Regions from separate parts of the Homo sapiens genome. Here regions 1, 2, 3, 5 and 6 are each linked to region 4. Evidence: promoter capture Hi-C in 16 types of primary human blood cells and fetal thymus (Javierre and others, 2016). All regions are on one chromosome and are shown on one strand. Each heading gives the region's core, a stretch centred on a gene start or on the middle of the fragment in contact. The rest is flanking DNA. Distances are from core to core; before and after follow the strand shown. Region 1 overlaps PRKAB1-AS1 (PRKAB1, TMEM233 and CCDC60 antisense RNA 1). Region 2 overlaps LOC124903033 (a long non-coding RNA gene). Region 3 overlaps PRKAB1-AS1 (PRKAB1, TMEM233 and CCDC60 antisense RNA 1). Region 4 holds the start of SUDS3 (SIN3A corepressor complex component SDS3). Region 5 holds the start of FBXO21 (F-box protein 21). Region 6 overlaps CCDC60 (coiled-coil domain containing 60).

What was found. The method cuts DNA at HindIII sites, captures the fragments that hold promoters and counts their contacts. A CHiCAGO score of 5 or more calls a contact.
Region 1: a contact is called between a fragment that was not itself captured here and the fragment with the promoter of SUDS3 in region 4, in 3 of 17 cell types (naive CD8 T cells, total CD8 T cells and naive CD4 T cells). The highest score is 7.9, in naive CD8 T cells.
Region 2: a contact is called between a fragment that was not itself captured here and the fragment with the promoter of SUDS3 in region 4, in 2 of 17 cell types (total B cells and naive B cells). The highest score is 10.3, in total B cells.
Region 3: a fragment that was not itself captured here is called in contact with the fragment with the promoter of SUDS3 in region 4 in 1 of 17 cell types (total CD8 T cells); the score reaches 5.3 in total CD8 T cells.
Region 5: a contact is called between the fragment with the promoter of FBXO21 here and the fragment with the promoter of SUDS3 in region 4, in 6 of 17 cell types (naive CD4 T cells, non-activated CD4 T cells, total CD8 T cells and 3 more). The highest score is 8.5, in naive CD4 T cells.
Region 6: a fragment that was not itself captured here is called in contact with the fragment with the promoter of SUDS3 in region 4 in 1 of 17 cell types (endothelial precursors); the score reaches 6.7 in endothelial precursors.

The regions. Positions count from the first base shown.
Region 1 is chr12:119,547,324-119,551,920 of GRCh38, forward strand. All of the region lies in intron 2 of PRKAB1-AS1 (PRKAB1, TMEM233 and CCDC60 antisense RNA 1), which reads right to left. Among named protein-coding and RNA genes, the nearest start is that of TMEM233, 44 kb to the right of the region's middle. The HindIII fragment of the contact is 7,127 bases long and covers 1-4,597 here.
Region 2 is chr12:119,680,452-119,685,207 of GRCh38, forward strand. All of the region lies in intron 1 of LOC124903033 (a long non-coding RNA gene), which reads right to left. PRKAB1 (protein kinase AMP-activated non-catalytic subunit beta 1) reads left to right here. Exons shown (of 7, transcript NM_006253.5): 7 at 1-1,168. Among named protein-coding and RNA genes, the nearest start is that of PRKAB1, 15 kb to the left of the region's middle. RefSeq lists enhancers at 1,551-1,610, 1,781-1,910. The HindIII fragment of the contact is 854 bases long and covers 2,103-2,956 here.
Region 3 is chr12:119,653,319-119,658,225 of GRCh38, forward strand. The region is part of intron 1 of PRKAB1-AS1 (PRKAB1, TMEM233 and CCDC60 antisense RNA 1); the gene reads right to left. It also overlaps a transcript of TMEM233 not described here. Among named protein-coding and RNA genes, the nearest start is that of PRKAB1-AS1, 12 kb to the right of the region's middle. The HindIII fragment of the contact is 4,114 bases long and covers 1,350-4,907 here.
Region 4 is chr12:118,375,180-118,379,927 of GRCh38, forward strand. It overlaps SUDS3 (SIN3A corepressor complex component SDS3), which reads left to right and starts at 1,376. Exons shown (of 12, transcript NM_022491.3): 1 at 1,376-1,654. The coding sequence starts at 1,513. It overlaps LOC124903031 (a long non-coding RNA gene), which reads right to left and starts at 948. Exons shown (of 2, transcript XR_007063480.1): 1 at 777-948; 2 at 119-612. RefSeq lists silencers at 1,373-1,592, 1,623-1,772 and an enhancer at 1,431-1,931. The HindIII fragment of the contact is 4,103 bases long and covers 536-4,638 here.
Region 5 is chr12:117,187,915-117,192,818 of GRCh38, forward strand. It overlaps FBXO21 (F-box protein 21), which reads right to left and starts at 2,556. Exons shown (of 12, transcript NM_015002.3): 1 at 2,304-2,556; 2 at 1,313-1,448. The coding sequence starts at 2,542. RefSeq lists an enhancer at 1,683-1,772 and silencers at 2,243-2,292, 2,573-2,672, 2,713-2,772. The HindIII fragment of the contact is 6,345 bases long and covers 1,284-4,904 here.
Region 6 is chr12:119,416,096-119,420,719 of GRCh38, forward strand. All of the region lies in intron 1 of CCDC60 (coiled-coil domain containing 60), which reads left to right. The region is part of intron 2 of PRKAB1-AS1 (PRKAB1, TMEM233 and CCDC60 antisense RNA 1); the gene reads right to left. Among named protein-coding and RNA genes, the nearest start is that of CCDC60, 84 kb to the left of the region's middle. The HindIII fragment of the contact is 650 bases long and covers 2,925-3,574 here.

The DNA.
Region 1 (4,597 bases), core at 580-3,079, 1.2 Mb after region 4:
CTGAATTTTTTTATGTTTGTTTACTTATTATCTGTCTTCCCAACTAGATTTAGCCTTCATGAGGGCAAGGACTACATCTGCTTTATTTGTTATTGTATTCCCAGAATTTCTCATAACATTTCTGGCATCAACTGAATGGATGGATGGATGGATGGATGGATGGATGGATGGATGGATGGATGCATGGATGCATGGATGCATGGATGGATGGATGGATGGATGGATGCATGGATGGATGGATGCATGGATGGATGAACAGTTGAGTGGATAAATGGATGAATACTTGAGTGCATGGATGGATAGATGGATGGATGGATGGATGGATGGACGGACGGATGACTGAGAGAAACTAAAAGAAGCCATCATCAGGGTTAGACTCATCAGGATTCCTCAGATCCCCACTGCCTTCTAGGAAATAAAGATGTCCAGGAGGCTGGCTTAGATGTGAGACTGCCCATCCTGGCAAAGGTGGAGCCTGATAGTATAAAAAATAAGCTCACAGCTCAGTGTCCTAAGGCCAGCACAAACAGTTCCCTCAATGACCCAACAGGTTGGCGAGAATAGAGCTGAGGCATTCCTTTGACCTTAGACTTTTAAAAGTAAAAAGTCTACTTTCAGAGCTTGGGGCAGGTTTTCTATTACACATCACAGAGCTAGTCCCTTCCATCACATGACTTAAGCCAGAAATACCCCCATCCTTTGTCCCAATTCACTTTTAATGTTCTGATGAAAAGTCTCTCCCGCTTGCCTTTTGGGATTATATCTATCACCACGGATGCTATTCAACAGCCATTTCCCATTCTTCTTTTGCTAGGAGTCCTGATTTTGTTCAAGTGTCTACCCCTTCCCATGTGAATCAGGATAAATTTTGATTGGTCTAAATCTATATTGGCAATTCCATTCCCCATGCTAGGGTTAATTTATAGGTGGTCATGTTACCCCAGGTTTGCAAGGGGAAGCTCCTGAGAAAGGTTTGTTTCTTCTTAAAACAAACACAGAGGAGGCCGGGCACAATGGCTCATGCAATCACTTAATCCCAGCACTTAGGGAGGCCAAGGCAGGTGGATCACCTGAGGTCAGAAGTTCGAGACCAGCCCAGCCAACCTGGTGAAACCCCATCGCTACTAAAAATACAAAAATTAGCTGGGTGTGGTGGGCACCTGTAATCCCAGCTACTCAGGAGGCTGAGGCAGGAGAATCACTTGAACCCGGGAGGCGGAGGTTGCAGTGAGCCGAGATCACGCCATTGCACTTCAGCGTGGGTGACAGAACAAGACTCTATCTCAAAAAAAAAAAAAAAAAAAAAACACAGAGCACAGAGGAAAACAGTCCTTTCCCGGAACTTATCGTGTCTTCACTAAATTGTGCAGGCACCTTGCTGCCAACAAGGGGCAGATTCAAGAGAATCACCTTGGCTGGAACATTTTGAAGTGAGTTGATACAACCTTCATTGCCCAAAGCAGCTGAGTCTGGGTTTTCTGCTACTTGAAGCTGAAAATACTCAGTTGCATAAACCAATAACAATATCATTCTCACGCCTCGCCCTTAACTAACATCTGCTCTTTTGATAGCTGTTTGAATGATAGCTCCCTCGTCTGCAAATCTCAGAGAAAGCCTTTGACTCTTTCAAGCAAGATGTCATCATGCCAAAGAGAACCCAGATTTGTTATACTTGGAACTCCACAAAAAGGCTGCAGTGTGCCTTGCAAATGGCAACATTAACTCTGCTAAAACCTTCCCAAAGATGTGAAACTCAGGGGTCACTAAGGAGCTGGGGGTAAGGCAGAGAACATATGACACAGTACAAAGCCCTTCACAAGGCAGAGACATCTTCATCCCCAAAGTCAAAATAATCTAGGAACAGGGGTGAAAATGAAAAACTGGTGACGGGGGAAGATTTTCAACAATCATTTTAAGGTGTTCACGGGAACAGGGGTGGGAAGGAGGTGAAGAATAGTGTATATTGATTAGATGGTAAGTCCTGGAGGTAACAAGTGGGAGAAGGGGACTGAAAGAAGAAGGGCTGCAGTTTGACAGGTGGAGGTAGGAAACTCATAGAATGTTTGCGCCAGGTGAGACCTTGTCATCAACCTGAGCTTGCATATCATTGAGCACCTACCATGCTCCAGGCTATTTGAGAGACGCCAGAGGTATAAAGAGAGCCTGTGTCCTCCAAAGGTTAAATAGTGGTGTTATACTGTGATGGTTAAAACAGAATGTTCAGGTGTCAGACTGAGAAAGTTCAGATCCTAGTTGTGTTGTCATTGGCTGTATGACCTTGAGAGGTATCTTCACTTCTATATATCTCATCTGTAAAATGAGAACACCACTAAAGAGTCAATGAGATAGCCTGGGCCAGTCTTGGTGGCTCACGCCTGTAATCCCAACACTATGGGAGGCCAAGGTGGGCAGATCACTTGAGGTCAGGAGTTCGAGACCACCAGCCTGGCCAACATGGGGAAACTCCTCTCTACTAAAAATATAAAAATTAGCCAGGAGTGGTGGCAGGCACCTGTTATCCCAGCTACTCTGGAGGCTGAGGCAGAAGAATCGCTTGAACCCGGGAGACAGAGGTTGTAGTGAGCCGAGATCACGCCACTGCACTCCAGCCTGTTTGACAGAGTGAGACTCCATCTCAAAAAAAAAAAAATTCAGTGAAATAGGCTGTGTAAAGCATCCAGCTTACAGTAAAGACTCAATACAACTCAGCTATGACAACAATGGCAGAGAAAGATGGAGCACACAGAAAGCCACCACCGGAGTCTGGCAAGTCAAAAAAGGTACATCAGCCAAAGTCTTTATATGCAAGCAATAGAATCTGATTCTGGCTAATTTAACTCTGAGTCTTTACATTACTGCCTCTGAAAACATAAAAATCCGATCGCAAAGCCTAAGTCACATGATCATATCCTAGTTGACAAAAAAAGCTGAGAAAGCAAGTATCTGGATTGTTTGACTTTCATAATAGGAGAAATATTAATCTCATAGAGTGAAAGTTCCCCAAGAAAAGGAAAAGGACTGAGAAGCTACTCATAAAAAAACAAAAGTGTCCTCTAGAGAAGGCTTACTGGAAGAAGTAACAGCTGAGTTGAAACCAATCCACATCCTACATTTACCAATGAAGAAACTGAGACACAGAGGGGTGGACTCTTCCAAAGTCACTAGCTTTGGGAGGAAAAGAAAGAAGGGCTTGGAATAGGGGACAGTAGGGTTCAGGAGGAGACCCCAAAGGAGATCTCTGATGGGCTGAGGGAGGAAGAGGCTGAAAGCCTCAGCCAGAGTTGGTGTTGGGTCCAGAAGTGGTGGCAGCAGAGGAGACAGTGAATATTGGACGGTGTTAGTTTCCAGGCCTGGGAAGAGTTTGGGATCCAGCATAGAGGAGTGGTGTATCATAAGGAATTGGTTTGGTCTTTATCCCCAGTTTCTGGGAGGGAGCCTCTAAACCCTTAGAAGTTCCTGAGTGAGAAGAGTTTCTTTGTTATTCATAGTGGGCCCCACAGATCACCCCTGAGTTTATGCTAATGAGGTGATCCACAGTGGGTCCCTAGATAGTTTTTGGCTGGAAGCTGGTCATGCCAGAAAGACCAACAATGTGATTAGAGGGTTGGGGTTTTGAACCACGTTATATCCTTTCATCTTCCTATGCTCTGGGGACAGAAGGAGGGTTGGAGGTGGGGTTCAATCACATGGCCATTGATTCAACCAAGCATGTCTACATGATGAAGCCCTAATAAAAATTCTGAACATCCGACATTCCAGTGAGTTTCCCTATTCGATAATCATATATCGATATCCTGAAGACATGGAAATGCCACATCTTGGACCCTCCCAGACTTCACTCTGTGTCACTCTTCATTTGGATCATTTTGATTTATATCCTTTATAATAAAATTGTAATCATCTATATCATATTTTGTTGAGTTCTGTGGGTTGTTCTGTCTTATAAACAGATAAGAACTCAACAAAGTATGATATATATGATAGTGAATTAATGGACCAGAGGGGCTAGTGGGAACCCTCAAATTGTAGCCAGCTGGTCAAAAGTATAGGTGGCCTGGGACCACTATGAATGGTGTCTTAATTGAAGACATTCTTGTGTACCCTTAATCTGAAAGTTTTGACCTACCTCCGGATAGTTGGCGTCACAATTGCATAGCAAAATGAAAGCTGTAATTCAGGCAAAGGACTGTATTGTTCCAACCCTGTGGTTGAGCCTCTGTCAAGGAAAGTCCTCACTCAAAGGTGGAACACATGTGTAGCTTGTGTCTACCCACTCCCTCTTCTTTAGGCAGCAACCCCTTCCTCCTGACTCTCATTCATTGTGGATTGAGCAGTGCTTCAATCCAGTGCCAGGTGTGGGCATGTGACCAAGACCTGGATAATGCAAGCATGACATTTCCCTAATCATAGCAAATGGCTCAGGATGGACACCCAAAGTAATCCAATAAAGCTCAATTCCCGAACTTATGTTGGAACTGGAAGAGAGAACAAGAAGCCCTCTTTTTTCTGGAACTGTTAACACTAAGGATAAAACAAGCCTACAGCTTCTGGGAACCAACACACAGAGAGAAATTGCCAACAAAGGGAGGAAAACAAA
Region 2 (4,756 bases), core at 1,280-3,779, 1.3 Mb after region 4:
GCCCTGGTCCTGCTTGAAGGTTTGTCCAGGCAGAGCAGCTCCTGCAGCGCCTCGGTCTGTGACAGTCCTCCTAGCACCCCCATGGCTTTGAGCCTCGGGGACTCATCAAGTCCAAGAAAAGAGGGAGGGGTGGCAGAGGATCTGCAGCCCTGGCCCCGCGGTGCATGAGGCTGGGTGCAGTTCTAAACCTACATTCTCGATTTTTCTTAAGCCAAAAATGAATGCTAACTCCTTTGCCAGTAAAATTCTGGGAAACAGGGACTGAGGCCACACATCATTTCCAGTCATCTGTGTGTTTTTAAGGCCAGCCACTTGTCCCTGTTGAGGCCTGGCTATGGAACTAAATACAGTGTTGGTCTTGCCTGTCCTTCAAAATCAACAACAGATTGTCTCTCGGCTCCAGGGAGGTGTCATTTCTATAGAAATTAGAAGCTTTCTGATTTCTAGATGAGGTTTTACAATTGTTTCTTACAGTCATGTGCACTAAGTACTCTTTTTGTAAGCAGAGGTGGCTGGCTCTGCAGCCTTAAGGCCATTTTTTAAGTCACCACGTCTAGAAGTCACATGAACTCTGCTCAGCAATAATCTGTTCTCAGAACAGACTTTTCAACCTGCTGCCGGATTTCTCCATTCAGCTGGATGATCCTCAGGACTGACCAGTTAGCTGGCAGGTTGTCCAGCTTTTTATTCCAGTCATAATAGGTGACAGTGTTAACCGTGAAAACTTGAGAGGCACTCTGCCCTCTTCCCTATAAAATCACACAGCGTGATTTTACAAGGTCCCGTGGCACCTTGCTCAGGACCTCTGCCCCTAGTTAGCAAGACTGCAGCAGTTGCTGTTGCTTATTCTGAAAGGAATGTAGAACTTGACAGCAGCCTTCTGAGTCTGGGTCAGGAAGATGTCCTTTGGACCAAAGCAGACTTCTTTATACGCAGCTCAGTTTCCCGGGAGTCGCCACAGATGTACCCACTAGCCCAGGTTGCTGTGAGTCAGCGGAAGCTCCCGTTATGCCCTTTGCTCCTGGTGGGAGAGGGAGGAGTGAGCTCCCTGGGTTCCAGTATTTACTTGGTATACCTGAGTTTGGGGGTACCCTTTTTTGTGACTTTTCAAAACAGTGAATTACTGTCACCTTGATGGACAAGTTTCAATAAAACTTTGTAAAAATAATTGGACATGTGCCTGGAGGAGCTCTGATTTTATTCAGTCCCTTGGAGAAGAGACTGGAACTCTTCGAGAGTTGCGTTTCAGTACCGTTCTTGTGGCTCTGAGCGGACAGGGCTACTCCAGCTGCCCAGGCCTGAGAACCAGTCCTGTGACTCACACCCATTCACACAGTTTGGAACCTTAAGGGACCCCTAAAACTGAGCCCCTCTGAACAGCTCAAGTCACAAGGGGAAGCTGAAGAGGGGTAACAGCAGAGGCTCCTGGCTTCGGCCAGTTGTTGGTGTCCCCAGGCCAGAGGGTTTGTTTCCTTTTGCTCCTAAACAAGCCCGGTGGGACAGCCTGGGATCGTGACCCTGGCGTGTGAGAGAGCAGGACGTTGTGGAGTCAGAGCTGTTTTCATCCACTAAAAGAGGCCGTGTCCCTCCTCCAAAAAGGTGGAAGGTTATGGGTGTTCCTTTAAGCCTTCTCAGGTATCAGGAAACATTTTAAATTTAGCAGAAAAGCATGCTAATGAGCTCTACCCACTGGTGCAGAAAACCCAAGCTGAAAATGCTATGTAAAATAAGACTGGTTTACTGGAGCCAGTCACCCCATGAGTTCTCCAAGCCCTGGGGCCACAGGGGACTTCCAGGTGAGGTCACTGCTGAGATGATGGAGGAGACACAAAACAAGAGGACATGGTCAGAGACAACACATCTCTGTGCGTATTCAAAGGATTTCATTTTCTTTAAAAAGCACATTATAGTCGGAAAGCCTGCCCACCAAGTGAAAGCCTCCATACCCAAGAAGCTAAAGGTTAATGGTGATTTTACAAAGGTGGAAAAGGAGACCTTGTTTTGCCCAAATCACAGGGGCAAAGCCATATGTCAAATCGTGTCCTATGACCAAGTAATCCTTTCTTCATTAGCATTTCCTTTATGGGTGAGGACTTAGTTAAAGCTTAACTCAAATTGCTTTTCAATGAAGATACATTTTTCCCTCTAGAAGCTGATATACAGATGAATTTATAGAGCCAAATTAAAGCCTAAAAAATTACTAAAATGTAAATCAGTATTGCAGGGCTAAGGCCACAAACAGGAAGTCAAAAGGCCAGACAAGAAAATTGTGCCTGCACCTCAGCTAGCTCAATTAGGAAATCTCCAAGGCTCCTAAAAGACTGAGAGAAAAAACCTGGAACATCATGATACGATCTGTGGCTGAGGTCAGAGACTGAACGAGCCAGTCTAGGAAAGAACAAAATTTCATTTTAATTCAGTTCCTTTTGTATGAGCACAGTTTCACTTTCAAGCATTTACTTCCCATATCTGATCCTCCTCTGCTATTGTGTCACCTTCAAAATTCAAATGTCCCCAATGTGATAGTATTAAGAGGTAGGGCCTTTAAGAAGAGATTAGGTCATGAGAGCCCCTCCTCTCATGAATGAAATTGAGGTTCTTATCAAAGAGGCTTCAGGCAGCATTCAGCTCATGTGCCCTGGCACCTTCTGCCATGTGAGGACACACAGCTTTTCTCCCCTGCAGAGGACCCAAGCACAAGGCGCCATCTGGGAAGCAGAGAGTAGCCCTCACTAGACAAGCAAACCTGCCCATGCCTTAATCTTGGACTTCCCAGCCTCCAGAACTGTGAGAGAATGAATTTTTGTTCTTTATAAATTACCCATTCTCAGGTATTTTGTTAAAGCAGCACTAAATGGGCTAAGACATCCACCAATGTTTACAAATGGTTTGAATGAATTGATGAAGACCCAAGACATGGACCACTCATCAAATCATAAAGTTTCTGAGGAATAAAAGCTTCAGCACTCATCTTGGCCAGCAAATTAGTGGAGAAACAAACTAGAGCCTTCTGCCCTGGTATGCCAACTATAATTGTCTTCAGGAGAAAACATGGAAGTTGTAGATACGTATACATTTCTTCTAAAACCCCAGTCATCCCTATTAATTGTAAAAACATCCACAGGATCCTCCTAAGAGTCATCGTCACTATAGTGAGTCAGACATTTGGAGAAGATCCCAAAAGCTGGAGCAGCAGCCGGAGCCCCGTCTCTGGGACCCCAGCCACTGGCTCTAGAACGAGCCACCAGGCTCTGCCCTCAGGGTGGGCTCCCACAACTACATTGTCGTCTTGTCTTTCATACAACTAAAGAGCCTTTCCCCAGATGAGGATGCCAGCTCTTACTGCTACCTCCCCCTAAAAGAATTCACCCATCCCATCTGAAATACTCAGTGGCCAGTGAGAACAGGCCAAGATGTGTATACCCTTGGTCGATTTTTTGTTTCCTTTTTTGTGGCTCTCTGAAAGACAGCCTGACTTATGCAGAGTAATAAAGTCATTTTCAAGGTTCTTTCATCTACCTCTAACAATCTCTCTAGGGCAAATAGAGTTCCGTTCATCATTAACAGACTCAAGGGAAAACAAAGTGATCAACACTGGACTCTATTTCCACTACCCCCACCCTCCCCAGCTTCAGGAAACAGCTTCAGCATTTGAGTGGGCAAATAAGAAACTATTTTTCTCATTTAACACTGTAGGCCTAGAGCCACGGTCTACATGCTTTAGACATCATTAGCAGTATTTAAATTGCCAAGGAAGACATGGGACTAAAACTAGAACAGACCACGGTTTCTCAACCTTGGCACTATTGAGGCTTTGGGCCAGATAATGCTTTACAGTGGGGGGCTGTCCTTTGCCTTGTAGGATGTTGAGCAGCATCTCTGACCTCCACCCATTGGATACCAGTAGTACTCCCGAGTTGTGACAACCAAAAATGTCTCCAGACATTGTCAAATGTCCTCTGGGAGGAGGGAAGCAAAATCTCCCCATGGCTTAGAACCAGTGGAACAAGCCAGTGTAACCACTGTATTCTGAGAATGGAATCTGAGCTGGCCCCCACGAATGCTTTCTATAGCAAATCACATTCAAGAGGTCCAATTCTGAAGACAGTCCTATTAAGCAAATTCTCTTTTGGCCTAACCCTCCAAATCCTAAAGTTCCATGGTTATGGAATTTGCTATGCAATCAACCTCTTTAGTCCGGTGACAATTAAGTTGTAAGCGCAGAAAACATGACATCTAATTTTGTGCTTATGAAACAGGAGTGGCCAGCATGAAGAGTTAGGCCTCATTTTACGGTGTGGCTGTGGAATTGGTTGGTTGTTTCTTTCGGGCTATTCCTTAGGGTTCAAACACTCTTCCTTGGCACTTCCTTTTGAAACCAAACTATGTTGACTTAGCTTTGGAAGTTTTCTGTGACCTCCCACAATCCTCTAGACAATCACTGAAATGCTTGGTTGATATTTAACAGATGTTTTTCTAATGCTACAAGGAAAGAAAGGTTCACATTTCACCACTTCATCTTCTGAATTATTTTCATTCTTACAACTACGACCTTGTGGCAGATTTTCATGCCCAACAGTAACATCGAAAAGAACAGAATTGCATCTGTGGTTCCCATCACAAGCAACAAAGACAGATACGACTCTGCGAGTCCAATTTTGACCGTGGTCAGACGACTTCATTAGAAAATAAAAATTCAAAGACTACAACCCACAGGAACCATGAAAACAAAAACATCACCATTTGCCAAAACCCG
Region 3 (4,907 bases), core at 2,157-4,656, 1.3 Mb after region 4:
GAGGCAGAGGTTGCAGTGAGCCGAGATCACACCATTGCACTCCAGCCTGGGTGACAGAGCGAGACGCCACCTCAAAAAAAAAAAAAAAAAAAAATTAATCACTAAACATGTGAAGGAGCAGGAAACTGTGATAGTCAAGAGAAAAAATAGTTAATAGAAACAGACCCAAAGACAATGCAGATGTTGAAATAAGTAGGCAAATATTTTACAATAACTCCAATACATATGTTAAAGAATCTAGAGGAATAGATTAATAGGTGAAGAGGTGATGAGTTTCATGAAGCTATGCAATGTAAAAAAAAATTAAAAAATTTTTTAAAAACCCCTGAAAATCCTAGAACTAAGAAAACAAATCCTGAAATAAATTATTTGTATGGGATTAAGCATACAGAAGAAAGGAGCAATGATCTTGAAGACAGGTAAATAAAAATTATCCAAACTGAAGCAGCAGCAAGAAAAAAGATTTAAAGAAAAAAATAAGCAGAGCTTCAGTGATTTGCAGAGAAGTATCAAGCATTCTACCATATATGTAATTAGAGTCCTAAAAATAAAAGGAGAGAAAGAATGGAGCATTTAAAAAGTTTGCTTAAGAAAAATTGATTTAAATGTTTCCAAATGGTATTAAAAATATCAACCTACATATCCAAGAAGCTAAAAAAAAAAAAAACAAAAACCCAATCAGGATAAATGCAAAGGAAAACACACCTAGGCAAATTACTGGAAAAAGAAAAAATCTAAAAGGCAGCCAGAGGGAAAAATGATACATCACGTACATGGAAACAAAGGTAAAAATGATAATTGACTTCTCTTTTTTTTCAGGTCTTGGCATCAAGACTTGATTCTCATCAGAAACAATTAAATACAGAATAGAGTAGAATGACAACTTTAAAATGCTGAAAGAAAAAAGGTGTCAAGCTCTAGTGAAAATATTCTTCAACAATGAAAGCAAAATAAAGATATTTTTAGTTAAAAACTTAGAGACTTTGTTGCCAGCAGATCTGCATTACAAGAAATGCTAAAGGAAGTCCTTTGGCCTACAGGGAAATGAAACCAGATGGGAATTAGTATTTAAAGGAAAAAAAATGAAAAGTAGTAGGAATATTAAATTTGTGAATAAATATTAAAGACCATAAATCTATGGTCTAATCAAAATCTCAGCAAGACTTTTTGTAGAAACTGACAAGTGGGGTCTAAAATTTATATAGAAAGGCAAAAGAACTGGAATTGCTGAAACAATATTGACAAAGAAAAGCAAAGTTGGAGAAGTTACATTGCCTGATGTGAAGACTTGCCATAAAATTACAGTAATTGAGACAGTGTGAAGCTGGGCACAGTGGCTCACACCTGTAAGCTTTAGGAGGCTGAGGTGGGAGGATTATATGAGGCCAGGAGTTTAAGACCAGCCTAGACAACATAGCAAGACTCCATCTCTACAATTTTCTTTAATTAGCCAGACATAGTGGTACATGAATATAGTCTTAGCCACTTAGGAGGCTTGAGCCCAGGAGTTCAAGGTTACAGTGAACTATGATCATGCACTGCACTCCAGCATGGGTGACAAAGCGAGACGCTGTCTCAAAAAAAAAAAAAAAAAAAAAAAAAAAGACAGTGTGGTATTGATAAGACAGACACATAGATCAATGGAACAAAATAGAAACTTCACAAATAGACCCACACATATATGGTTAATTGTTTTTGTTTTGTTTTGTTTGTTTTTTTGTTTTTTTGTTGTTGTTGTTTTTTTGAGACGGAGTCTCGCTCTGTCGCCCAGGCTGGACTGCGGACTGCAGTGGCGCAATGGCTCACTGCAAGCTCCGCTTCCCGGGTTCACGCCATTCTCCTGCCTCAGCCTCCCGAGTAGCTGGGACTACAGGCGCCCGCCACCGCGCCCGGCTAATTTTTTGTATTTTTAGTAGAGACGGGGTTTCACCTTGTTAGCCAGGATGGTCTCGATCTCCTGACCTCATGATCCACCCGCCTCGGCCTCCCAAAGTGCTGGGATTACAGGTGAGCCACCGCGCCAGGCCTGTTTTGTTTTGTTTTGAGACAGTCTCCCTGTGTTGCCCAGGCTGGTCTGAACTCCTGGCCTCAAGTGATCCTCCCACCTCAGCCTCTCAGGTAGCTGGGATAACAAGTATGAGCCACCACTAGATTAAGTCAATAGATTGTTTTTTGGTTGTTTGTTTGTTTGTTTGTTTTGAGACAGAGCCTCCCTATGTTGCCCAGGCTGGTCTGAACTCCTGGCCTCAAGTGATGCTCCCACCTCAGCCTCTAAGGTAGCTGGGACAACAAGTGTGAGCCACCACTAGACTAAGCCAATTGATTTTTTTTTTTTTTTTTGAGACAGGGTGTCTCTCTGTCTCCCAGCTAGAGTGCAATGCGATCATGGCTCACTGAAGCCTCAACCACCTGGGCTCACATGATCCTCCTGCCTCAGCCCCACAAGTAGCTGGGGCCACAGGTGCATGCCACCATGTCCAGCTAATTTTTTTACTTTTTGTAGAGATGGGGTCTCACTATGTTGCTCAGGGCTGGTCTCAAACTCCTTGGCTCAAGCAATCCTCCCACCTCGACCTCCCAAAGTGCTGGGATTACAGGCATAAGCCACGGCACCTGGCTGTAAATTGATTTTTGGCAAAGGTGCAAAGGTCATCCAATGGAGAAAGAATAGTGTTTTCAACAAATGATGCTGGAATAATTGGACATCCATGTGCCCACAGATGAACTTCAACCCATAGTTCACACCATACATAAAAATTGATTCAAAATAGATCATAGAGCTAAATGTAAAACCTAAAATGATATAATTTCTGAAGAAAATATAGGAGGATGTGGAGAAACTGGAACTCTTGTGTACTGTTAGTGGGAAATGGTACAGCGGCTATGAAAAACAGTATGGCAATTCCCCAAAAATTAAAAATAGAATTACCATAGGATCTGGCAATTCCATTTCTGTATACCCAAAACAACTCAAAGGGACATGAAGAAATATTTGTACACCTGTTTTCTTAGAAGCATTATTCACAATAGCCAAAAGGTAGAAGCAACCCAACTGTCCATCAATAGATGAATGGATAAACAAGCTGTGGTGTATACATACAAAATATGATTCAGCCTTAAAAAGGAAGGAAATTCTGATACATGCTACAGCATAGATGAAACTCAAAGACATTATGCTAAGTGAAATAAGCCAGTTACAGAAGCACAAATACTGTTTGATTCCATACATCTGAGATACTTGCAGCAGCAAAATTTATACAGACAGAAAGTAAAATGGTGCTTGCTGGGGTCAAGGGTAAGATGGAATGAGGAGTTACTGTTTAATGGGCATAAAGTATCAGTTTTGCAAAATGAAAAAACTGTGGATGGATGGTGATGATGGCTGCAAAACAATGTAAATGTACTTAATGTCACTGAACTGTACACTTTAACATGGATAAAATAATAAAGTTTATGCTATGTATATGTATTAATCGCATTTTTCATTTTCTATATCTTATGAGGCTTGACATCTTGGGGACTTACCAACCTGAAAGAGACTGTTTGTCCCAGGGTTAGCTCATTCCAAGAGATAGCAGATGACCTTCCTGCAATATGCAGTCCAACCAATTCAGAGCCCATACTCTGAACCACCTCCTCTCTCTGGCTTTTCCACTCCGAGAGGCAAGTTTCCCCTGCCCTAATCATCCCAGGGTCAGGTATCAGACAGTTAGAGACTACCCCTATAGCCCACAGCTGGCCTGAATTATTCAAACTATCCAATCCTAAGCCCTAATCATCCCAGGGTCAGGTATCAGACATTTAGAGACTACCCCTATAGCCCACAGCTGGCCTGAATTATTCAAACTATCCAATCCTAAGCCCTAATCATCCCAGGGTCAGGTGTCAGACATTTAGAGACTACCCCCCCCAACCCCCTATAGCCCACAGCTGGCCTGAATTATTCAAACTATCCAATCCTAAGCCCTAATCATCCCAGGGTTGGGTGTCAGACAGTTAGGTACGACACCTATAGCCCACAGCTGGCCTGAATTATTCAGACTATCCAATCCTAAGCCTGTTCAGCTGCTTACCTTGCCTCGCCCATTCCTCCTGGCAAAAACCACAATAAAGGCTTTTTCCTAGGCTTTCTTCTCATCCTCTCTGGCTGTGACCAACCTCAAAGTTCTCTCCTGTGGTTCTGCATGGCATGGCGGGCTCCTGCCCCTTGGGAACTGTATTAGACTGTTCTCACACTGCTGTGAAGAAATACCTGATACTAGGTAATTTATAAAGAAAAGGGGTTTAATTGACTCACAGTTCCCCATGGCTGGGAAGCCCCAGGAAACACAATCATGGCAGAAGGAGAAGCAAACAAATCCTTCTTCACAAGGAGGCAGGAGAGAGAAGTGCCAAGCAAAGGGGGAAAAGCCCCTTATAAAACCATCAGATCTCATAAGAACTCACTCACTATCAGGAGAAGAGCATAGAGGTAATCGGCTCCATGATTCAATGACCGCCCCCGCCAAATTCCTCCCACGACACGTGGGAATTATGGGACCTACACTTCAAGATGAGATTTGTGTGGGGACACAGCCAAAGCATATCAGGAACTGTGAGCAATAAAACTATATTTTTAATGGCAATGGTCTTCCGATCCATTGGCCTTACCATACATGAATAAACCCAAAGTCCCAGGTACATTCTAGAACAGTATATCCTACAACATTTTAAAAAATACATTAAGGAAATGATAGATTCAGTACCTTAAGGCAGCAGTCCCCAACCGCCAGGCCACGGACCAGTACCATGGTACGTTAGGAACCAGGCCGCACAGCAGGAGGTGAGCAGTAGGTGAGCAAGTAAGGCTTCATCTGTATTTACAGCTGCTCCCCATCGCTCACATTACTGCCTGAGCTCTGCCTCCT
Region 4 (4,748 bases), core at 126-2,625:
CTGAGAATGATTCTTATTTAGAAGGGGCTTCAGAAGATCTCAGAACTCCTGGAAAGACATCTTAGCATTCCATTCTGGAAATTCTTTAGTTTTGTTGGGAGAAAAAATCACTTACAAATAGAGCCAAGATTTTAATTAAAACAAGGTAGTAAATAAATGTCAAAATAAGTGGGATGAGAATAACGTTTCATTTTCAGAAGAGTCCATAGGGAACAATTCAGAGATAAATTTAATCACAAAAGGTCTGAGAATGGGAATATTCGGTTCCACCCTGGTTTTCACATCTGTTCATTTTCACTACTGGTTGCGTTTCCTACGGAGACTCGGGTGGAACATAAAAGTGGGGCTACTTTGGACAAACCATTAAAAACCTTACCCTTTTTTCTCGCTACACACAACTAGACCACATTGCTCTTAGCTAAAGGGACACCTTAAATCTATTCGTTCAGCAAAACTTATAACACCGTGTTCCTTTTCTACTCAGAGGGAATCGCACAAATTAATTCTTGCAGATACTCAGCTCTCCTGTTTTTTAAGCTTCCACGTGGGCCTTAGCCAAATAACTTCTGGTAGGCAAATTCTCCCCTTCTTCAGTTGAGAGCTCAGAGCAAGCTGTTGGATTAAGCAAAAGCACCTTTTAAAAAATTAATATTCAAGGCAGCTGTACCGCGGAGGGCCTGGGTCTCGGAGTCTAAAAAATCAGACTGGACGTTACTATTTTTTTTTAGGCAAACGACAGCTCGTTTCTCATTTGTAAAACCGGGGGAACATCTTACCGAATAAACCTTACACAAACAGAAAGGATTCCTAAGGGCTGGGAAAATACTATTTTGCTGTCCCCAGGATGGAATATCAGCATCCTTGTCTTTTAGCTCTTAATAAAGCTCTAACTAGTCACAGGAGGAGCCAGGCTGCATGATCACGCACACTCTGGACGTCTAGGTTTTCCGACCTAATAAGGGGGCAGGTCGCGTCGTTCCCTGCTTAAATTAGAGACCACCTCCACCTGCCAAGGGCCCTTCAAACCCTCCGCCCCTAGGTCGCTAACGATCACCGCTTTAGTTCTAGCTCCAGGCGCCGCCTGGCGGCTGTCTCCGGAAGTCGCCTGCGAGCCTCGGGGTCCTGACCGCTGCTGGGCCTGCCCGTAGATTTGCCTGACTCTAGCGAACCTGGCTCCGCCCCTCCCCCACTATACGTTGAGGATTTTAAGACGGCGATGAAAGGGCTGAGGTTGTGGCGACGGGGGCGTCCAGCGGCATCTCCACTCCCCCAAGGATGGCGGAATCAGGCCGTTGTCGGGCAGCTCTCGACCCGGAAGTCGCTCGCGGCGCGAGGCCCCCGTTGCCGAGCGCGGGCGCGGGGGGCGGAGCTCGGCGGAGACGGGGAAGGGGTCGCCGTGGCTGCCGGTCCTCGAGTTGGGGGCTGCCGCGGACACTGCTAGGCAGACGGCGAGTACCGAGCGCGGGTGGCCGCGGTGTCCGTGGGCCACGCTCAGCTGCGGTCAGAGGCGACATGAGTGCCGCGGGGCTGCTGGCCCCGGCCCCGGCCCAGGCTGGAGCGCCGCCGGCCCCCGAGTACTACCCCGAGGAGGATGAAGAGCTGGAGAGCGCCGAGGACGACGAGCGCAGCTGTCGGGGCCGCGAGTCGGACGAAGGTGAGTCCTGCCGCTCGCCCGGCCGCCCGGAGCGGAGGTGGGACCGCTGGGGGAGGGGGTGGGGCTGTTCGGGAGAGGGGCGGGGCGGCCTCCGGGGCCTGGGGCTGCGTGGAGGGGCCGCCGGGAGTTGCGGGGCTCGGGGAAGTTACCCCCATCCGTGCTGGAGTAGCGGGGAAGCCCTGGGTGCGTTACACTCGACCGTGATGGGGAGAGGGGACTTAGATGTTGTCACGCTGGGGGTCCCTTTAAGACCCCGTCCTCCCTCCCAGCCGTTTCTGATTGAACCTCACTCACTAGTAGGAATTAGAAACTCATTTACTGAATACATCGAGTGTAGTTCGCCCCTTTTTTGTGTGTGAGAGCATCAGAGTCCAAAGTTGCCCCTCCCCACCCCCGAAATGCATAAGTCATCTATACTTTAGGTAGTACACTATTGAGAACTCAGGTTGGTTAAAGGAAAGGGACCTAGAACCAGCCAGATACAGGTTTAAATTTGGCTTTGTCACTTAACTCAGCTTTGTAAACTTAAGTTTTCCAGCCTCGATTTACCCAACTGTAATGGAGCTGTTTAATTCCCACACCTGCCCTAGAAGGCACTTCCTAGGGTCGGTATAGGGATTAAATGACATGCGCATAAAGTACTTGGCCTGGTACTGTAAATACTCCGTAAATGTTCTCCCCACCCGCCCCCCTCCCGGAAACAGGTAAGAGAGGGAGAGATTTGCTTAATGGTCCCCAGGTGTTGTGTTTTCAGTCCCACGCTCTTTGCACTGTCATCACAGAGTCTCAGAGCCTTGCTTTTCAAACTGGGCTTTATAATTTGGCAAGTGTGAGGAACGCTATTTTGGAGGGATGGAGGAGGAGGAAGGTGATGAAATGTGAGAGATCAAGGGAGGAGAAATAGGAAACAAAGAGAGACCGATATATGAGCGGAATATTCTGGGACAAAATCGGGCCGTGGAGCAAAAGCTAGACCAGCTGTTTGGAATGGGGCCTACGTTTTATTCATCTGAGTTTCCCGAGTGCCAAGTAATGTGGCTGACCATGACAGGAACTCAGGGAAGGCCTCTTGACTGAAGGAGGGGAGAAGGGTTTGTGGGGAATTGGATCTGCAACAGCCTTACAAAAGACAGCTGCATATGCATGACATACAAAGTTGAGGGACTGCATTCGATTTAATTCCATCAGAAGACACGGCTTAACCAGAGATTTTGAATGTGAAGCACTTGCACTTCATCTCATACCCACGAGGGGGCGCTGTGGAGCCAAAATTGAGTTTTTTTTTCCTTCCAGTATAGGGGCTATTAAAATTTTGTACACACCCCAGCCATTAGCTTGTTCTAAGAACAATGTTTAAGATGTTCTGAAACAGTTTTCGTTTGATCATCTGGCCTCCTCCTTGTTCCCTTTAGTTGTAACTTGGAAAATATTTATTTGTGTCAGATTCCCCTTTTTTATTGTATACAGTTGGCTCTGCGTATCTGTGGGTTCTGCATCTGTGAATTCAACCAAGCGCAGCTCAAAAATATTCAGGAAAAAAATTGGATCTGTACTGAACATGTGCAGACTTTTTTTTTGTTATTCCTAAACAGTGTAGCGTAACAACTACTTACATAGTATTTACATTTTATTGGATATTGTAAGTAATCTTTTTTTTTTTTTTTTTAAGATGGGGTCTCACTCACTCACCCAGGCTGGTGTGCAGTGTCACGATCTCAGCTCACTGCAACTTCCATCTCCTGGGTTCAAGCAGTTCTCCTGCCTCAGTCTCCGGAGTAGTTGGGATTACTGGCACCTGCCACCATGCCTGGCTAATTTTTGTGGTTTTATTTGTTGTTTTGTTTATTTTATTTTTTTTTGAGATGGAGTTTCACTCTTGTTGCCCAGGGTGGAGTGCAATGGCGCGATCTCGGCTCACCACAACCTCTGCCTCCCGAGTTCAAGCAATTCTCCTGCCTCAGCCTCCTGAGTAGCTGGGATTACAGGCATGTGCCGCCACCCCCAGCTAATTTTGTATTTTTAGTAGAGACGTGGTTTCTCCATGCTGGTCAGGCTGGTCTCGAACTCCCGACCTCAGGTGATCCACCTGCCTTTGCCTCCCAAAGTGCTGGGATTACAGGCGTGAGCCACTGCACCTGGCCCTAATTTTTGTGTTTTTAGTAGAGATGGGGTTTCACCACGTTGGCCAGGCTGGTCTGGAACTCCTGTCCTCAGGTGATTCTCCTGCTTTGGCCTTCCAAAGTGCTGGGATTACAGACATGAGCTGCCATGCCTGGCCTGGATATTCTAAGTAATCTAGAGATGATTTAAAGTGTACTGTTGGCCTGGTGCAGTGGCTCATGCCTGTAATCCCAGCACTTTGGAATGCGAAAGCAGGTGGTTCACTTGAGGCCAGGAGTTCGAGACCAGCCTGGCCAACGTGGCGAAACCTCATCTCTACTAAAAATACAAAAAGTAGCCGGGTGTGGTGGTGCACCCCTGTAATCCCAGCTATTTGGGAAGCTGAGGCAGGAGAATCGCTTGAACCCAGGAGGTGGAGGTTGCAGTGAGCCGAGATTGTGCCACTGCACTCCAGCCTGGGCGACAGAGTGAGACTGTGTCTCATTAAAAAGAAAAGTATACTGGAAGATGTGCGTAGGTTATATGCAAATACTATGCCATTTTGTCAGAGACTTGAGCAGCTGAGGATTTTGGTATCCACGGGAGGTGCAGTAACCACTCCCCCACGGATACTGAGGGACAACCGTGTATCCTGATGTAAAATGTGCGAAGGGTTCCAACTGGGTATGTATCAGAAGAGAATGTACATACTAGTTTTTTTCTGGAGCAGCGAGTAAGGCTTGACTGCCTGCAGTGTCCAGTCTTACGCCTGCATCTCCTTTCTTGAGTTGCCAGCATTGTTGTTTCTGCAGAAGTAGCAGCCTTCACCATAACTGCCTGTGCCTGAGACACCCTATTCTGTGGCTGCATTTCAGGTAAAGGCAAGCTTTTTGCATAAATCTGACTGTAAGTTGGAAATGGCCTTTTCTTTTCTGAAGTACGGCTGTCCCTCGGTATCTATGGGGGACTGGTTCCAGGACTTCATGGATACTAC
Region 5 (4,904 bases), core at 1,306-3,805, 1.2 Mb before region 4:
AACACTAATAAATATTTATAGAAACCAATTACACTAAGGAATGTCTATTTGTATTCTCCATAGGGGAAAACATTCAAATTTGTCCAAAGTTCAAATTTTCCCTTTCAAAACTTGAAAAGCCTTGAAAACATTTCAAATTATTAACTCCATTAACTAACAGTAATTAAAATTAGAGAATCCAAAGGAGTCTTTAGGAAAACAAAAAAGTGAAATAAATCAGATTGGCTCTATTTCTAGAACCCCAACCAGAAATAAATATCGAATAGTTTGTTGAACTCAAAACATTAGTGTGGATTATTTTCCAGAGTTACAAAAAGGGATCAGGGGCAGATACAGAAACTTCCGTGAGGCCAGGCACGGTGGCTCACGCCTGTAATCCCAACACTTTGGTTTGCAGAGGCCGGCGGATCACTTGAGACCAGGTGTTCAAGACCAGCCTGACCAACATGGTGAAACCCCAACTCTACTAAAAATACAAAAATTATCCAGGTATGGTGGCGCATGCCTGTAGTCCCGGCTACTCGGGAGGCTGAGACATGAGAATTGCTCGAGCCCAGGAGTAGGAGGTTGCAGTGAGCTGAGATTGCGCCACTGCACTCCAGCCGGGGAGACAAAGCAAGACTCTGTCTCAAAAAAAGAAAAAAGAAAGAAACTTCCATGAGACATTTTGAGGAAAGAAAAAAAGAAAACAAAACAAAACAAAACAAAAAAAACCCACCATGTATTTCTGCAATACTTAAAAAAAAAAAAAAACCCAAAAACTTTTCAGGGATAATGAATGCAAGACAATTCATTTCAGGGAGTAATAACTCTGATTTATAGGTAGCTTTTAATCCTCTGTTACCTTAACAAATAATGCAGTTCACTACTGGGTAGAACCTGCAAAGCCAGAGAGAAGAACCACATTAATTTCGTCAACCCTTCTGGGAAAACAACCGGGAGAAATTTACAGTGTTCAATCATTGATGATTCCCCAAATAACGGAGGGGTTGCAAAAAAAATCCGTTGAACCCATTTGAGAAATAATGCTGATCTGGACTCCGTCTACATTGTGCTGCGTGGGTCCCTCCCTGCTCCCTCCACCCCCACTCTCTCTCTGGCTTTAGAAAAGTAAAGCTGGCACAGACAAATGGCTTCGTGTTGTTGGATAGGAGGAAAAGGACACAATGACTCTTGCAGCCATCTAAGTGAGTAAGGGATTGTGAGAGCATTGAAAAGGGAGATACGAAAAGAGCTGGATGAGCTCATGCCTGCAGACCCAGACACATACACCAGCAAGCCAAAGCTTAGAGCCACATCAACAGATCCTTACGTGCTCTGAAAAGAACCTCTTTGAGAACGAGGCTACAATCTTCCGCGCTTCTAACCCAGCTTTTTGCCGAACTTTATACTCTTCCAACCAATTGACGTAGTCGGTGGGGCTGTAGTGTTTCATAAGGGAAGGCCACCTACGAGGAGAGAAACACCCCCTCAGCTTAACAGAAACTCAAAGGCAGGCGGCCACGAATCCAAGGCAGCCTTGGAAACAGGGACAGCAGTGGCGTCCAGTGGTAAGAGGGACCCCGGCGAGAGACCTAGTTCAAAACCCCACCAGCATTCACTCACTCACTCCCGGTGTGACCTTGGCGTAGCGGCATGAATGATGTCTCCATTCCCCATCTCTAAAATGGGGACAGTTGTAACAACAACAACAATAATAATAATGACAATGACAGTGAGCACTGATTGAGCGCCTCCTAGGAGCCGGGGCCCTGCGTGCGTGCCTCCCGGACATCATCTAATTTAATAAACACGGTGAAAGGTAGGTCTAATGATCACCACCACTCAAAGTCTATGAACGAGGCTCAAAAAAAGGGAAGTCGCTCCCCCCAAGGTCACAGAGGGAGTGTGCAGGGCCAGATTTCATCCTGGGGCCACGCTGAAATCTGTGCCGTCCACAACCAGCCCGGGGATGCTGCGCCCGCCCGATCGATGCATCACTGGGTCCATGTAAACATTTCAGCCCGAAGTCGGGCACAAAAGAAGCGCGCAAAAGGGACGAGCCGCGCCGCCGCCAGCGTCACCCTTGACGGAGGACCCGGCTGCGAGGCGCTCCTAGATGCGCCATTTGGGGACCCGGGGGTCCGCCTGGCGTGGCCCCGCAGGGTCCGGGGCCTGGAGGCCTTTGTCTGTCTGTCCGCGGGAAGGGGTCCGGGGTGGGGTCCGCGCGCGGGGCGGCCGCGGGGAGCTAGCGGGGCGGCTGCCCGGCCCCGGGGGGCGCGGGGCGGTGGGCGCGCAGCCGGGGCGCGGGGCCGCTGGCTCACCTCACCCGGAACTGCTCCTTCCACACCTTCCCGCTGCTCTGGCACAGCTCGCGCAGCCGCCGGCAGGTGCTGGAGACACGGCCGATGTCGGCGGCCGTCAGCGAGCCGCAGCACAGGATGTACTCCAGCACCTCACCCGGCAGGTTGACGAGGCAGCTGAGGCCCGCTACCTCCGGCGCGGCCTCCTCCGCCAGCGCCGGCACCACCTCCATCGCGCTGTCGACTGCTGCCGCCGCCATCTTGTCCGCGTACCTGGGGCCGCCGCGCGCGCGCGTGCGAGAGTGCCCGGGCGCCCCGCCTGGCCCCGCCTACTGGTCTTGGGGGCGAGTCCTGAGATCGCTCCGCCCATCCGCGGGCCACACCTCCCCTGCATCGGCTGGGGGCTGCGCGGGTGGCAGCGCCGCAAAAGGGAGGACATAATTGGGCTCTGTGCTTGGAGCCGGCAGCGCAAGCCGCCTCTAGTCCGGGACAACAATAGTAGCACTGATTCTTTTAAACGTAATTAATGTTTAAAATTAACAAATAAAAATGGTATCTATTCTCACGCGTGCTGAGCGCTTTCTGTGCGCATTGGACCTTTCCGAATTACCCTGCGAACTTTCTCCCCATATTACAGATGGGGAAACAGGTTCGGAGAGTGAGAGGGCTTGCTCAGGATCCCTTGTCTTGGATTTTTTTTCCCCCTTTGGGAAGGAGTCTTGCTCTCACCCAGGCTGGAGGGCAGTGGCGCTATCTCGGCTCACTGCAACCTCTGCCTCCTGGGTTCAAGCGATTCTCCTGCCTCAGCCTCCCGTGCGGATGGGATTACAGGCGCGCGCCACCACCCAGGTTGGAGTGCAGTGGCCGTGATCTCGGCTCACTGCAACTTCCACCTCCCTGGTTCAAGCAATTATCCTGCGTCAGCCTCCCGAGTAGCTGGGATTACAGGCGCCCGCCACCACAGCCAGCTAATTTTTGTATTTTTAGTAGAGACAGGGTTTCACCATGTTGGTCAGGCTGGTCTCGAACTCCTGACCTCAAATGATCCACCCACCTCGGCCTCCCAAAGTGCTGGGATTACAGGCGTGAGCCACCGCGCCCAGCCCCTTGTCTTGGATTCTATTTCAGATCCACTTGACTTTTGCTTGTCAGTAATCTTAACCATATGATGTAATAATAACAATATTCTTGAGTGGGTGCTATGGGAAGCCCTCTATGATGGTGTAGGGGAGTAATAATAATCCTCAAATGTGTGCCCTGATTTTAGGCTAATAGAGGGCAGGCAGAGAGCTCTCCTGTACTGGTTTCTTAATTGTTTCCAGCTCAACAATCCTTCATATTTGGGGAGCATAGTCTGACCTCCCACAATAGGTACCACAGTTATACCTATTCTACAGAAAAGGCAAAGTTCTTCCAGGTGGCAGTCACTGGTTCAAAGTTACAGAGACAAAAGTGCTAAAGCCTGGATTTGAGTCTTCAAAGCGGGAGTTATCACTCAGGATTGGGAGGGTAGTCTCAGGATCTGCACATTAAAAAAAAAAAATCAGTTTAGTTCAGTGCCAAAGCCCTGTGTTGTGTGCCCTGGGGATACAGGGGTGAGAAAAATGGAGTCTTTGCTTCAAAACCTCAAAGTGCAATTACAGTTAGAAGGATCTGTTGTCAGTACATGGAGGGTCCAATGAAGTACTCCTGGCAACTTGGAAATCAAGATGCCCTGAGAGAGCTGAACTAGTAAAGTGACTCTCAATGGATGGCGTTGAGCCATCTGTGGCTCCCTATTTCCCGTAGAAATGAATGTGACATCCCAAACATTGTTGCAAAGCAACAAACTCCACCTCTTCTTACCTATCTGAAGTCTTTCTCTCTCACTAGCCATGCATACCCCAGCAAGGCTGGTCATCTCTTTCCTCCCATTTCTGGCCCTACATATACTATTCCTGCTGCCTGCAAGGCACTTCATGCAGTCCTCCCCTTCCAGTAGCTCCTCCTCTTCCTCCAGGGCTCAGCTTAACCTTTCCAAATGCTCTCCCTTCCCCCGCCCCAGCACCAGCACCAGATATGGCTCCTGCCCAGCATTTTGCAGTCTTGTAATTACTTAACTTACAACTATTCAACATGCATCTTTCCCACTAAATCTGAAGGGAGTTCAGTGCTAGGACTGTGTCTGAGTCACCTCTAGAAGCCTAGTTACTTGACCCATGCCCTGCACAGAGCAGATTCTCAATTATCTATTGATTGCGATAGTCTAACCAGCTGTTTGACTAGGGAAGTTACTTAGCCTTTCTGAGGCCCAGTTTTTTATCTGTAAAATGGGAATAATAATTAATAATAATAATGCCTGTCTCCTGGGGCTGTCATGAGAATTAAATGAGGAAATTCATGTGAGGGGCATAGAACAGTGGCTGGTATAGAAAAAATCCTTGAGCCGGATGCGGTAGCTCACACCTGTAATCCCAGCACCTTGGGAGGCCAAGGCAGGCAGATCACCTGAGGTCAGGAGTTCGAGACCAGCCTGACCAACATGGTGAAACCCCATCTCTACAAAAATGCAAAAACTAGCCGGGCATGATGCCAGGTGCCTGTAATCCCAGCTACTTGCGAGATTGAGGCAGAAGAATCGCT
Region 6 (4,624 bases), core at 2,000-4,499, 1.0 Mb after region 4:
TGTTGGCGAGGCGTAGTGGTTCACGCCTGTAATCCCAGCATTCTAGGAGGCCAAGGCAGGCGGATCACCTGAGGTCAGGAGTTCGAGACCAGCCTGACCAACATGGAGAAACCCATCTCTACTAAAAATACAAATTAGCCGGGCGAGGTGTTGCATGCCTGTAATCCCAGCTACTCAGGAGGCTGAGGCAGGAGAATTGCTTGAACCCAGGAGGCAGAGGTTACAGTGAGCCGAGATCACACCATTGCACTCCAGCCTGGGAAACAAGAGCAAGACTCTGTCTCAAATAATAATGATAATAATAATAAGGCAGTGTCTGCTGTGGGACAAACAGGGAGGTCTCATTCATGAACACACTCCAGTGAGGAATATCCAGCTACATTCAAAATGGCCATCAAGGGTAGAAAATGAAGTTCTTTATTACTGAGGCCCTTACACAAAGAACAAATAGAACTTACACAGAAAAATTGGAATCTTTAGGAAGGGGAAAAAAATCCCTGCTGATTACAGCTTTCCTCACACAGCTCAATAGATTTTTTTTTACTTCAAAACAACTCTATAGGTGGGAAGAGGGCTCCAGCCTGAAGCAGGACTGAAGAACAGATAAATTGCATGGCATTAAATAGAATGCTTATTTTGCTGGTTATCTTTTTCTTTCAGGTGCCCTGAGTTTTTTCAAAAATTTCCCCACAAATCAAGGGTTGGGCCAGGATTTAGAATGGAGTCTTTATAAAGAGATTCCCGGCCGGTCGACGTGGCTCATGCCTGTAATCCCAGCACTTTGGGAGGCTGAGATGGGCAGATCACCTGAGGCCAGGAGTTTGAGACCAGCCTGACCAACATGGTGAAACCCCATCTATACAAAAAAATACAAAATTATTCGGGCATGGTGGCACATGCCTGTAATCCTAGCTACTTGGGAGGCTGAGGCAGGAGAATTGCTTAAACCTGGAGGCAGAAGTTGCAGTGAGCCAAGATCGCGCCATTGCACTCCAGCCTGGGCAACAAGAGCGAAACTCTGTCTAAAAAAAAGAAAAAAAGAACATTCCCACCCCTCCCCTCATCAAAGTTTAACTCAGTAGTGTTCTCAATTGAGGGTGATTCTGCTTCCCAGAGGACACTTGGCAATGTCTGGAGACATTTTTATTGTTGTAACTTGCAGGAGAGATGCTACATTGTATGATGTACAAGAAAATCCCCCACAACAAATAGCGATTTGGTCCCAAACTTCAGTCATCCTGAGGAAGAGAGATCTTGTTAACCAGCCTGGGATGTTGCCTGGAGGAGGAAATGGTTTATCTTTACTTTTTGGAATACATCAGCAAGATTTTTCTTTCTACCCCCCTTTTTCCTTTTTCTCTTACTTTATCTCTTTTATTGGCTTTTGGCTGACAGGCAGGCATACAATCCTCCTTCCCAGAGCACCCAATTTCCTTTTATGGAGTTACTTCTGCTCTATTAGATACAATCAGGCTCTGTCCCCCTAGTTATTTAACTAGTACCTGGTCCTGAGCAGGTGCATAGTGGCCCCAGAGAGCCCAGTAAAGGAAGTGGTTAAGGTGTGACCTTAATTAAGTCCTCAAGAAGAGGTACTGACATAGCCAGGGCCTCAACACTTAGCCAAAACAAACAAATCAACCAAAAAACTATGACAGGTGGTGACTTGTAGGTTCTGCTGGGCCACAATTTCTCCAGCCTCAGGGGCATGGGTCCTACCTTTGTTTCCCAACTTCATCCAAGCTCCCACCCTGAATGTCAGCAAGAAGCCCAGACCCTTCCTTTATTCCCAAAGCACGGCTTCCATAAGGCAGTCCTGCTTCACTGACATTTACGGAAGACCCAAGCAAATTAACTGCAGCAAAGGAAAACCTGAAACTGGGGTTTCAGTCACTTCATATTTTTTCCCTAACTTGTAAAAGATTGTAGAAGATTCCAAACCTACAGAAAGTTTGCAAAAATAGTACAACAGGCAGTCAAATACCCTTAACTTAAATTCACAATGTTATCTTTTTGTCATGTTTTTAACATGTTTCCATATTTTTCATATGTATGTATGTATGCATACATGTGTGTATATATGTATGTATGTACTATATATATAATATGTGTGTATATTTACAATTTTTTAAGCTGAGCCTCTTGAAAGTCAGTTACAGACACTTCACACCTAAACACTTCAGCATGTATTACCGAAGGACATTCTCCTTCATAGTCACAATACAGTTAACACAGAAATTTCACATTAACCCAGTGCTATTATCTTTTTCTTTCTTTTTCCTTTTCTTTCTTTCTTTTTTTTTTTTTTTTTTTTTTTTTTTTTTTTTTTTTTTTTTTTTTGAGATGGGGTCTCACTCTGTTCCCCAGGCTGGAGTGCAGTGGCGCAATCTCAGTTCACTGCAGCCTCTGCCTCCTGGGGTCAAGTGATTCTCCTGCCTCAGCCTCCTGAGTAGCTGGGACTACAGGTGCACGCCACCACGCCCAGCTAATTTTTGTATTTTCAATAGAGACAGGATTTCACCATGTTGGTCAGGCTGGTCTCCAACTCCTGACCTCAGGTGATCCACCCACCTCAACCTCCCAAAGTGCTGGGATTACAGGCGTGAGCCCCAATGCTGTTATCTAACATAAAGTTCATGTGCAGATGTCCCTAGTTATCCCAGTCATGCCCTTTATAGCCTTGTCTCCAGTCCAGCATTCAATCAAGGGACCATGCATTTCATTTAGTTGTTGTGTCCCCTTGGTGTCCTAGAGAAACAGATCTTCTGCCTTCTTCCTCTTTTATGACATTGTTAGAATACAAAGAGGTGTATCCCTTGGACTTCTCTCCAAGAAAGAACTTGCCAGCAGGCGGCACAGGTAGCTGAGACTCTCCAGCTGTTGACACCGCCAGCATCCACAGCAGCTTTCATGCAGCGGAAGTCAGAAGCTTCCCCAGAAATTCCCCATCAGTGGGCACTGGCCATTTCTGCCTTGTGCTTGGGCTCAATCAAGCAATCTTTGCTCTGGATCTCCCTGTTGCATTGGCTGGACTCTGTCAGATCTGCATCATGGTCTAGGGCTCCCCTGCCAAATCCCACTTCCTCCTCCTTTTCTCTTTCATGGGCTTACCCGCAATGAGCATTTTGTAGTCCTTTCTCCGTGTCTGCTTCCCAGAGGCCCCAACAGACACAGACATTGACATCTTTTAAGAGTCCAGATCACCTATTTTGTAAAATGACCTTCACTTTTTATTTTTCTGATTGCTTTCTCATGATTAGATTCAGATTGGACCTCTGGGGCAGGACATGTATGTAGGTGATGTAACCATGTAGGCGATGCTGTGCCCTTCCCAGTGCATCACTTCAGGTTCACCTGATAAGAGTTTGTCCTGTCATTGGTGATGCTAAGCATAGCCATGATGGTTAAAGTGGTGTCCGCCAGACCTCACCGTTATATGGGTATCTCGTTTCCTTTGTAACGAATCATTAACCTGTGGGGTTAAACCTTGAGACTGTGATGCATTCATCTTCTCATTCATTCAGCAATGACAGAAAGAATGCAGAGCCAGGCCCTGTACCATGTGCTGAGTATCAGAAGCTTCCTTCCCAGGGATCATTGTTCCTTCTCCTCTTCTTCCCAGAGGACTCCTGCTGCTTTGTCTCCCCTAAGTTCTCAGTAGAGGACTTGCTCGTCTCCCCAGATGACAGTCTCTCCTTCTACCACCTCTCCCTGACAATCAAAATTTCCTATAAAAGATGCAACCTGTCTTCAACAAGGAGAGATGTTAAATAATTCTTTTTTTTTTTTTTTTTTTTTTTGGAGACAGAGTCTCGCTCTGTCGCCCCAGGCTGGAGTGCAGTGGCACGATCTCGGCTCACTGCAACCTCCGCCTCCTGGGTTCACGCCATTCTCCTGCCTCAGCCTCCCGAGTAGCTGGGACTACAGGCACCCACCACCACACCTGGGTAATTTTTTGTATTTTTAGTAGAGATAGGGTTTCACCGTGTTAGCCGGGATGGTCTCGAACTCCTGACCTCGTGATCCACCCGCCTCGGCCTCCCAAAGTGCTGAGATTACAGGTATAAGCCACCATGCCCGGCCTGTTAAGTAATTCTATAGTATATTTCCTATTTCAGTTTGAAGGATCTGTGTGTGGATGAGGTCACTAATTCTGGGTATCTCTATGTGGGTAGGTACACATCTTACATTCTTATGACAAAAAAAATACCTCACTCTCCCCAAAAGGAACTGCCTATCAACACCATAAAACCACCAAAATGGAGTATTATTCAGCTACAAAAAAAAGAGTGAGATCCAGTTATTTGCAACAACATGGATGGAACTGGAGATCATTATGTTAAGTGTGTTAAGTGAAACAAGCCAGACACAGAAAGACAAACATCACATGTTCTCACTTATTTGTGGGATCTACAAATCAAAACAATTGAACTAATGGACATAGGTAGTAGAAGGATGGTTATTAGAGGCTGGGAAGGATAGTGGGGGATGGGGGGCAGAAGGTGGGAATGGCTAACGGGTACCAAAAAAATAGAAAGAATGAATAAGACCTGCTATTTGATAGCACAACAGGTTGACTATAGTCAATAATAACTCACTTTTTAAATGACTAAGAGTATAATTGGAT